2 separate regions of the Homo sapiens genome follow, and region 1 is linked to region 2. The links are contacts of gene promoters, found by promoter capture Hi-C in blood cells and fetal thymus (Javierre and others, 2016). All regions are on one chromosome and are shown on one strand. Each heading gives the region's core, a stretch centred on a gene start or on the middle of the fragment in contact. The rest is flanking DNA. Distances are from core to core; before and after follow the strand shown. Region 1 has its middle 56 kb from the start of SSTR4. Region 2 holds the start of SSTR4 (somatostatin receptor 4).

Region 1 (4,353 bases), core at 342-2,841, 56 kb before region 2:
TTGTACGACTTACCCCACTGGCTTTTTACATTTCAGAATTAAGAAATATCATACAGCAAACAAAGGGTTGAGTTAAAAAAGCTTGTTTGCACATTGTTTTAGGAATTCAGAACACATTTCCCATAGAAACAATGCAGACAAGCCACAAAGGCAGATGGTTCCCTTCCTTCTGCCCCCACCCAAAAGTTTAGCCTGTGATGTTCTGAAAGCACAGTATTATTCCCCATTAAATTGTTCCTGAAATAATGCCTTTTGAGTCATAATTCAGAATGCCTAACTGAATTTTATGGTGGCTTTAAATGTGGCCCCAAAGTTCTTTGCACTCTATGTGCTCTCCCCTTGATCCTGGCTCTGATGACTTGACCAAAAGAATAAGGCAGAAAGGATGCTATGCCAGTTAATTTTGTGATTATAGAATTACTATGATACCAAAACCAGATAGTACTAAAAAACCCCAAAGACCACTATCCCTAAAAAATACGGATGCAATAATCCATACAAAATATTAGTAAATAGAATTCAGCAATACATAACTATATACCATGATCAAGTGAGATTTTTTTTCCCCAGGAGTTCAAGGCTGCTTTAATATGTAAAAATGAATATAATCCACCATGTTAACGGACTAAATAAAAATCACATGGTCATATCAAGGGGGAAGGGAAGCATTTGACAAAATTCAACACCCATTATGATGAAACTCTCAGAAAAATAGGAATAGAAGAAAACTCTTCCAACTTGATGAGCATCCACAAAAAGTCCAGGCTCCCTCCACGGTCTTCCTGGTAACATGGGAGTGAGGGACTTTCACAGGCTGGCAGGGATGGAAGTCTTGGCTCCCTACTCAGTCTTCTCTGACGGTGACCCATTCATTGTGGGGGCTGGACTCCTCATTAGCCTGGTAGTCTAGGCTCCCCATCTGGCCTTGGTGAGTGGAGATGGGGCTGCCGATTTTCTGTGGTGTTTAGATGGAGTAAAGCAGATGTTGCTAACAGGCTTTCTTTTTTAAATTTGTATAAACTTAAGAGATATAAGTATAATTTTGTTACATCAATATATTGTATAGTTGTGAAGTCTGGGCTTTTAGGGCACCCATCACCCAAATAATGTGTACTCTACCCATTAAGTAATTTTTCATCACCCACCTGTCTCCTATTCCCTACCCTCCCGAGTCTCCAATGTCCATCATTTCACAATTTGTCCTAGTTTATACACTATTTAGCTCCCACTTATAAATGAAAACGTGGTGTTTGATTTTCTGTTTCTGCGTTATTTCACTTAAGATAACGGCCTCCAGTTCCATCCATGTTACTTCAAAAGACATGACTTCATTTTTTTTGACTGAGTAGTATTCCATTGTGTATATGTATCACATTGTCTTTATCCAATCATCTGCTGATGAACACTTAAACTGATTCCATATTACTGTTATTGCGAATAGTGCCGTGATAACATATGAGTGCAGGTATCATTTTTATATAATGATTTCTTTTCCTCTGGGTAGATACACAGTAGTGGCGTTGCCACTCCAAAGGGTAATTCTATTTTTAGTTCTTTGCCATATCTCCACGCTGTTCTCCAAAGAGGTTATACAATTTACATTCTCACTGGCAGTGTGCCTGAAGGTTTTATGTCTTGCCAAGTCTTAGTTCTTTGGCCAGAGAGAGCAGGCTTTTGGGGGGCCTTTCTTGCCTGTGCCTGTTGGTATTTCTGGGTGGCTCACTTCTTTAGCTCTGACTCTGGAATATGAATCAAAAAGAGATTCCTGGGACTTACCGCTAGGTCATCCGTTGGGTCCTGGGGTCCCTGGCCCATCTGCCTCTTTCTCTTCACCTTTCAGAGGCTTATGTTTGCTTTGCACACAATGTCCCAAATTTTAGTTACTTTTAGCAGGATGGATAGGGATGGATAGATAGATAGTCCATCTATTCTATCTTCCTGGAAGCAGACACCTGATATTTTTGGATATCTGGATTCTGCCTCTACTTTATTATTTGACTGGATGTGGAATTCTAGGCTGTACTTTAGAATTTGAAGGTTTTGCTGCACTAACTTCTTCCCTTCCAGCATTGCCTTCTGATTTTTTTTTTAATGGGATCTTCTCTCCTTTCTGCTCTCTCTGTGTCACCCTCAACCTTCAGGACGTTTTTTTTTTCTCTCTAGAACCCCAAAATGTCATGAAGGTGTCCTTGGTATGTATGTTTCTCCTGTCTTTTGGGGGGGTACTCTTACGGCTTCTTTAACTTGGAGACACATGCCTCAGGAGTATAGAATTGTTCCACTGCTTATTTGACAGGTTCCTTTCCTTTATGCTTTTCAGCCTTCCTGGAACTCTGAAGAGCCAGTTGCTGCATCTTCTGGAACAGAAGATGCCTCTAGGTTTCTTTTCTCTATTTTTCTGCTTCTTTTTTGTCTATTTTACTTCCCAAAAGAGTCCTTTAATCTTCTAATATTTCTCTACAATATTGATATGGTCATAATGTATATGTCCCTCACCCCAAATTCCTGTGTCGAAATTCTCACTTTTAAGATTATGATATTACAAGGCAAAGTCTTTGGAGGGTGATTTCATGAATGATATTAGGGCCCTTAATTTAAAAACCCAAGGGAGAGGCCAGGCACAGTGGCTCATGCCTGTAATCCAAGCAGTTTGGGAGGCTGAGGTGGGCGGATCAAGAAGTCAGGAGATCGAGACCATCCTGGTTAACACGGTGAAACCCTGTCTCTACTAAAAATACAAAAATTGGCCAGGCATGGTGGCATGCACTTGTAGTCCCAGCTACTCGGGAGGCTGAGGCAGGAGAATCATTTGAACTCAGGAGGCGGAGGTTGCAGTGAGCCGAGATTGCACCACTGCACTCCAGCCTGGGCAACAGAGGGAGACTCCGTCTACAAAAAACAACAAACAAACAAACAAACAAAAAAACCAAGGACACAGCAAGAAGATGCTGCCTGTGAACCAGACAGAGAGTCCTCACCAGGCACCAAATCTGCTGATGCCTTGATCTTGGATTTCCCAGCCTCCAGAGCTGTGAGAAACAAATTTCTGTTTTCTAAAAGCCACCCGGTTTCTGACATTTTGTTACAGCAGCTAGAACAAACTAAGCTTTTGGCTATCACATTTTTCATTTCTGGGTCTTCCTTCATCTTATCTGATTTTTTCCGTTTTGCACAGTATCACATGTTTAAAACGGAATAACTTGCCTTGGGTCATCTTTTTTCCTGTTTGCTACCTTGTTTTCTCTGGGCTCCTTTTAAAAACATTCTCTTTACTATATTGTGTGCCTCCTCCAGTTTCCTTGTGTTTGTTTGTTTGGGGTTTGTGTGGTTACCTCTTTTTGGTCTACCTTTCGTGTTGAAGGATTTCATCTACCTGGTCATCCTCAGCCATCTGTTAACAGTGGATGGGGAGGTACAGGGAAGCTGGCTGGAGAGTGAGCTGTGTATCTTGTACCTGTGCTTCTAGATTCCATCCTCTTCTGCTCTGCTCTGCCCTGGAGGCTGATCTGCATGGCAGCATCACCGGAGCTTCTTTGCACTCTGGACTCCAGTGGATTCAGCCAATGAGGGGCACTGGCAGGAGGTCAGACACAGAGAGGAGAGAATGTCTAAGAAGTCTGTGTCCCGGAACCCTCCCCACTGAGCTGTGATTTGGCAGTGGTTGCATTCTTCTTCTGAAGGTGACAGTCCCTGTGGTTGTCCCTCTCTGATAGCCTCAGCCTTTCTTGGGTTCTGGGAAATAATCACAGCTCCACTCTGCTGCTCACCCCAGGGGCTTCACGGTCCCTTGTGGTTTCTCTCACCATACCTTTCCTCTACAAATCGCCTCCTCATTAAACTCTTTTCTGCCTGCTTCTGAGTCTGTGATCTGTATTTCTTGCCAAGCCCTGATCACACCAGAAACTTCATGTGCTTGCCTGTCAGCTGGTGGACTTCATGGCAACATGGCTGGCCTCTTCGCTGGCACACACCAGAGTATACATGTGTTGGTCTGCTGGGGCTGCCAGAGTAAAGTCCCGCAGACTGGGCAGCTTAAACGACAAAAACTTATTTTCTCACAGTTCTGGGAGGTGGAAGTCTGAGATCCAGATGCCAGCAGGGTGAGTTTCTTCTGAGGCCTCCCTCCTTGGCTCACAGATGACTGCCCTCTCCCTGTGTCTTCATGCGATGGTTCTTCGGTGTACATCTGGTGTCTCTGTGTCCAAATTTCCTCCTCTCATAAGGACACCAGTCATGTTGGGTTTCAAAACTTTTTCTCATGGCCTTATTTTAACTTAATCACCGCTTTAAAGGCCCCATCTCTGAATATGCCAATTCTGAGGTACTGGGAGTTAGGATTTCAACACAGGAATT
Region 2 (4,401 bases), core at 1,289-3,788:
CTGTGTTTTAACTCAGCGTGAAAGTTTCTCTAGGTCTCCTCTCCTGGGGGAGAAAGGTAGCGGCTGGTTTCCTGTTCCATTGCTTCTTTAGTATCCTGAGAGAGAACAGCCATGGGCACCCAGCTGCCCCAGCCTCTTCCTGTCCCAGGGCCCCGAGGCTGCCCTTCAGCGGTCTCCAGCTTCCTGCTCCTGTAAGCAGGGGCCTCTCTTTTTGGCTTTCCTGACATTTCTCCTGACCTCTTCTGCTAGCCCTCCTGAACGCACAGTAATATCTGTACATTGCAGTTGGTCCCCAGGCTGCTGCCTCTCTGTCTCTCCATCTAATGTTGCATCTGTGCACTTTAGAAGTACCCGGGAGCCTTCAAAATATTTGGATGCCTGGACACCACTCCAGATAATTCAGTCAGAGTCTCTGAAGACAGGGCCCAGGCATCCCTGTGTGAGGCCTTCAGGTAATTCCAGCATACAGCCTGTATTGGAAAGCTCTGTATTGAGGATGAGGCCCTCATGCTGCAGAGGGGGCCTAGAGCACAGGGAAGTAAGTTCCTGGAAGCACTAGCTGTTTATCACATAGGGCTAATAACCAATGGGGACAGTCGTGCATGCTTCTCTTCTTACATGCTAGCTTACTATGCTTGGAGGCATACACATGTGTATGGGGAGAGGAGGGCAGAATCGGGGAGCATTAGGAGAAAAACCTAAAGTAGGCACAGGAAAGATTCCAGGGGCTCACACATGAGGCAGGACAAGAAGAAATACTTTCTCAGGAAAGGGAAGGGGCCGAGTGTTCAATGGGCAGAGAGGACAGCAGAAGAGAGGAGACCAGGAAGACAAGATAGCCCCCAGCACTTCCACACTAAGCCCTGGAAAGGCTATCTGCAGAGGAGCCACCTAAGGGTCTTCCCAAGACCAGGGTTAAAGGGAAAAGCCCCTAAACTCCTCTTCCCTCCCAAATCTGAGGTTGCTCTTGTTCCCTTCCACCAAAGGATGGCACCAAGTAGAATGACAAAGGTGCCATCTCCTTCCTCTTTCTCAGGGAAGGGTCTCTCTCTTAAGGACAAAGATGTGAAAGGTCTCTCTCTTAGGGACAAAAAGGAAAGGACAGACCAACCTACAGAGTGGAGGAGTGCTAGACCAAATCCTCCCAATACATCTATTTGAGTAGCAGAGACTGGAGACAGTGGTTGAGGTCAACTATGGGGCTGCACTGGTGCTGATCATGCCCGTGCTCCCATCCCACACCTGGATAAACAGCAGTGGGCAGCTTCCCCCACCCCCCAGTCTTAGAAAGGCCTCCTCCAGTTGCAACAGGACTCCCTCCTCCCCATCGCTGTCCCAGCCACCCAGCGGAAAGCTGAGACCCCACCCCCCAGGTGGCCAATTTTAGACCCACTAAAGGCCTTTCTGGGCTGTACTGGGGGCTAAAGGGGGCCACCATCCCACAGAGAAGGGGCCAAAGACAGCCAGGATCCTAAAAGTCAGAGCTACTTTAAGAATAACTTTCCCAGGCCAATCCCCAGTTCAGGAACGTTCCTGTGCCCTGTGCCAGCTAGAGGGACTAGGGCTGGAGCCGGCGGCTGCTCCTGGGTGTCCAGTCCAGGAGCCAGTGAACTCACTATCTCTGGAGTTTAGCAGAAGAAGGGTAATTCCAGGCCGGAACCCCTTTCTTTCCCGACCTCTCGACCACAGTCCTCCCCAGGCACATTTTAGTGGCCAGGGATGGAGACCCGCGGATAATGACTGAACCAGGTCACAGGGTGAAGGTTCTGAGATGTCCGGCTCCCGTAGCTTCTGCCAGTTCCCGAGGGAGCTAGCACAGGCTTGGCCTTCTTTGGTGGCATCTCTGCCTCCACCTGTCCGTCTCCATTCCTTGTGCCCATAGCACCTCAGCTGCTCGGACACAGAAGTTAAAAGGTCCGGCATCTGCACTTGTCCAGAGTGGGTTGGGGAGCAGAGAAAGGAGTGGTGAGCTGTGGGGAAAACTGGACATCCTGACAGACCTGAAATTCACCAAGCCGCCAGTGGAAGCCTCAGGTTCCGCCTCTATAAAAGGGACTCAGCCATGTGCAAGGATGGGTCGTCGCGAGGATTAAAGGGCAGGGTGAGGGGATGTCAAGTGCAAGGCAAGTGGTCCAAGCTTCCAGGTGGTCCCTGACCAGTTCCGGGCACATCTTTACCCAAAGGGAGGACTCCGGGACCCCCAGCCCCGCCGCCGCAGACCCCCTGTAGCAAAGCAGGGAACTGGACCTCAAAGGGCTGCTGGGGAAGACGGGATCTGAATAGAGGTCTGAAGGAAAGAAGCCAGGCGGGGGACCCCGGGAGGGCCGGACGGGGCTGGGGGTGCTGTTGACACTGGAGCCGGACTGGAGACCTGGGAACCTGGGGCAGAGTCGGCAGCGGGGAGGGGGCGACCGAGGTGGGAAAACGGGGCGGGGCCGGAGACGACTCCAGGGCTGGGTGAGGCGCTGACCCCCAGGAGCTGGGGTGCCGAGGGGCGCGGGCCACAGCGGTGCGAGCCAGTCGGGCGCCCGCGCGGTGGGGCGCGCGGCGCGGGGATTGGCGGGCGCTCCCCGGTGCCCGCAGCTCTTCAGCGTAGCCGGGAAGAGCCGCGCGTCTGCGCGCCAGCCCCCGCCCTGGGCCCGCCGCCCGAGCTCTCTGGCGCAGCGCTAGCTCCGCCGCGCTCAGCTGCCCTGCGCCGGCACCCCTGGTCATGAGCGCCCCCTCGACGCTGCCCCCCGGGGGCGAGGAAGGGCTGGGGACGGCCTGGCCCTCTGCAGCCAATGCCAGTAGCGCTCCGGCGGAGGCGGAGGAGGCGGTGGCGGGGCCCGGGGACGCGCGGGCGGCGGGCATGGTCGCTATCCAGTGCATCTACGCGCTGGTGTGCCTGGTGGGGCTGGTGGGCAACGCCCTGGTCATCTTCGTGATCCTTCGCTACGCCAAGATGAAGACGGCTACCAACATCTACCTGCTCAACCTGGCCGTAGCCGACGAGCTCTTCATGCTGAGCGTGCCCTTCGTGGCCTCGTCGGCCGCCCTGCGCCACTGGCCCTTCGGCTCCGTGCTGTGCCGCGCGGTGCTCAGCGTCGACGGCCTCAACATGTTCACCAGCGTCTTCTGTCTCACCGTGCTCAGCGTGGACCGCTACGTGGCCGTGGTGCACCCTCTGCGCGCGGCGACCTACCGGCGGCCCAGCGTGGCCAAGCTCATCAACCTGGGCGTGTGGCTGGCATCCCTGTTGGTCACTCTCCCCATCGCCATCTTCGCAGACACCAGACCGGCTCGCGGCGGCCAGGCCGTGGCCTGCAACCTGCAGTGGCCACACCCGGCCTGGTCGGCAGTCTTCGTGGTCTACACTTTCCTGCTGGGCTTCCTGCTGCCCGTGCTGGCCATTGGCCTGTGCTACCTGCTCATCGTGGGCAAGATGCGCGCCGTGGCCCTGCGCGCTGGCTGGCAGCAGCGCAGGCGCTCGGAGAAGAAAATCACCAGGCTGGTGCTGATGGTCGTGGTCGTCTTTGTGCTCTGCTGGATGCCTTTCTACGTGGTGCAGCTGCTGAACCTCTTCGTGACCAGCCTTGATGCCACCGTCAACCACGTGTCCCTTATCCTTAGCTATGCCAACAGCTGCGCCAACCCCATTCTCTATGGCTTCCTCTCCGACAACTTCCGCCGATTCTTCCAGCGGGTTCTCTGCCTGCGCTGCTGCCTCCTGGAAGGTGCTGGAGGTGCTGAGGAGGAGCCCCTGGACTACTATGCCACTGCTCTCAAGAGCAAAGGTGGGGCAGGGTGCATGTGCCCCCCACTCCCCTGCCAGCAGGAAGCCCTGCAACCAGAACCCGGCCGCAAGCGCATCCCCCTCACCAGGACCACCACCTTCTGAGGAGCCCTTCCCCTACCCACCCTGCGTGGCCACCTCCCAAGGGGTGGGCACCATTCCTACAGCCCCGAAGACTGCATCTCCTGAATGCTCACCTAAGCTCCACCACCTGTTCCTTCCAGCAGCCCATGTACCTGCCGGAGAGTGTCAGAACTCTTCTGCTGCTCTCCTCTCCCCTGCACTCTGGCTTTCAAAAGGATGCTTCCATATGGGTAGGACTCCTCTGGAAACTGGGCTAGGATATTAATCATTCCTGAACCTCTGGCTGTTCTTCAAGGGCTGGGAAGCAGGAGGTGGTGAGAAATGAATGGTCCCTGTGTGTGACTCCTTACAGCCACTGCTTGGGAGAGGACTCAAGAAGGTGGAGGGAGGTAGCACCCTTCCTCTCTGCAGACGCTCTGCCTTGTGGTGGGAGCACAGCTTGTACAGGAGAGAGGAGGAAGGAAGATGCCCCCAGGCACCTGCCCTTTATGTCTCTTCCTGAGCTCTTGTTAAGTGAGACTTATGTTAACAGCCTGGGGCACTTA

What was found. The method cuts DNA at HindIII sites, captures the fragments that hold promoters and counts their contacts. A CHiCAGO score of 5 or more calls a contact.
Region 1: a contact is called between a fragment that was not itself captured here and the fragment with the promoter of SSTR4 in region 2, in 1 of 17 cell types (neutrophils). The highest score is 7.1, in neutrophils.

What each region holds. Positions count from the first base shown.
Region 1 is chr20:22,977,429-22,981,781 of GRCh38, forward strand. No RefSeq gene overlaps it. Among named protein-coding and RNA genes, the nearest start is that of SSTR4, 56 kb to the right of the region's middle. The HindIII fragment of the contact is 3,025 bases long and covers 80-3,104 here.
Region 2 is chr20:23,032,774-23,037,174 of GRCh38, forward strand. SSTR4 (somatostatin receptor 4) reads left to right here and starts at 2,539. Exons shown (of 1, transcript NM_001052.4): 1 at 2,539-4,401. The coding sequence starts at 2,711. The coding sequence ends at 3,877. RefSeq lists an enhancer at 3,080-3,626. The HindIII fragment of the contact is 5,481 bases long and covers 2,136-4,401 here.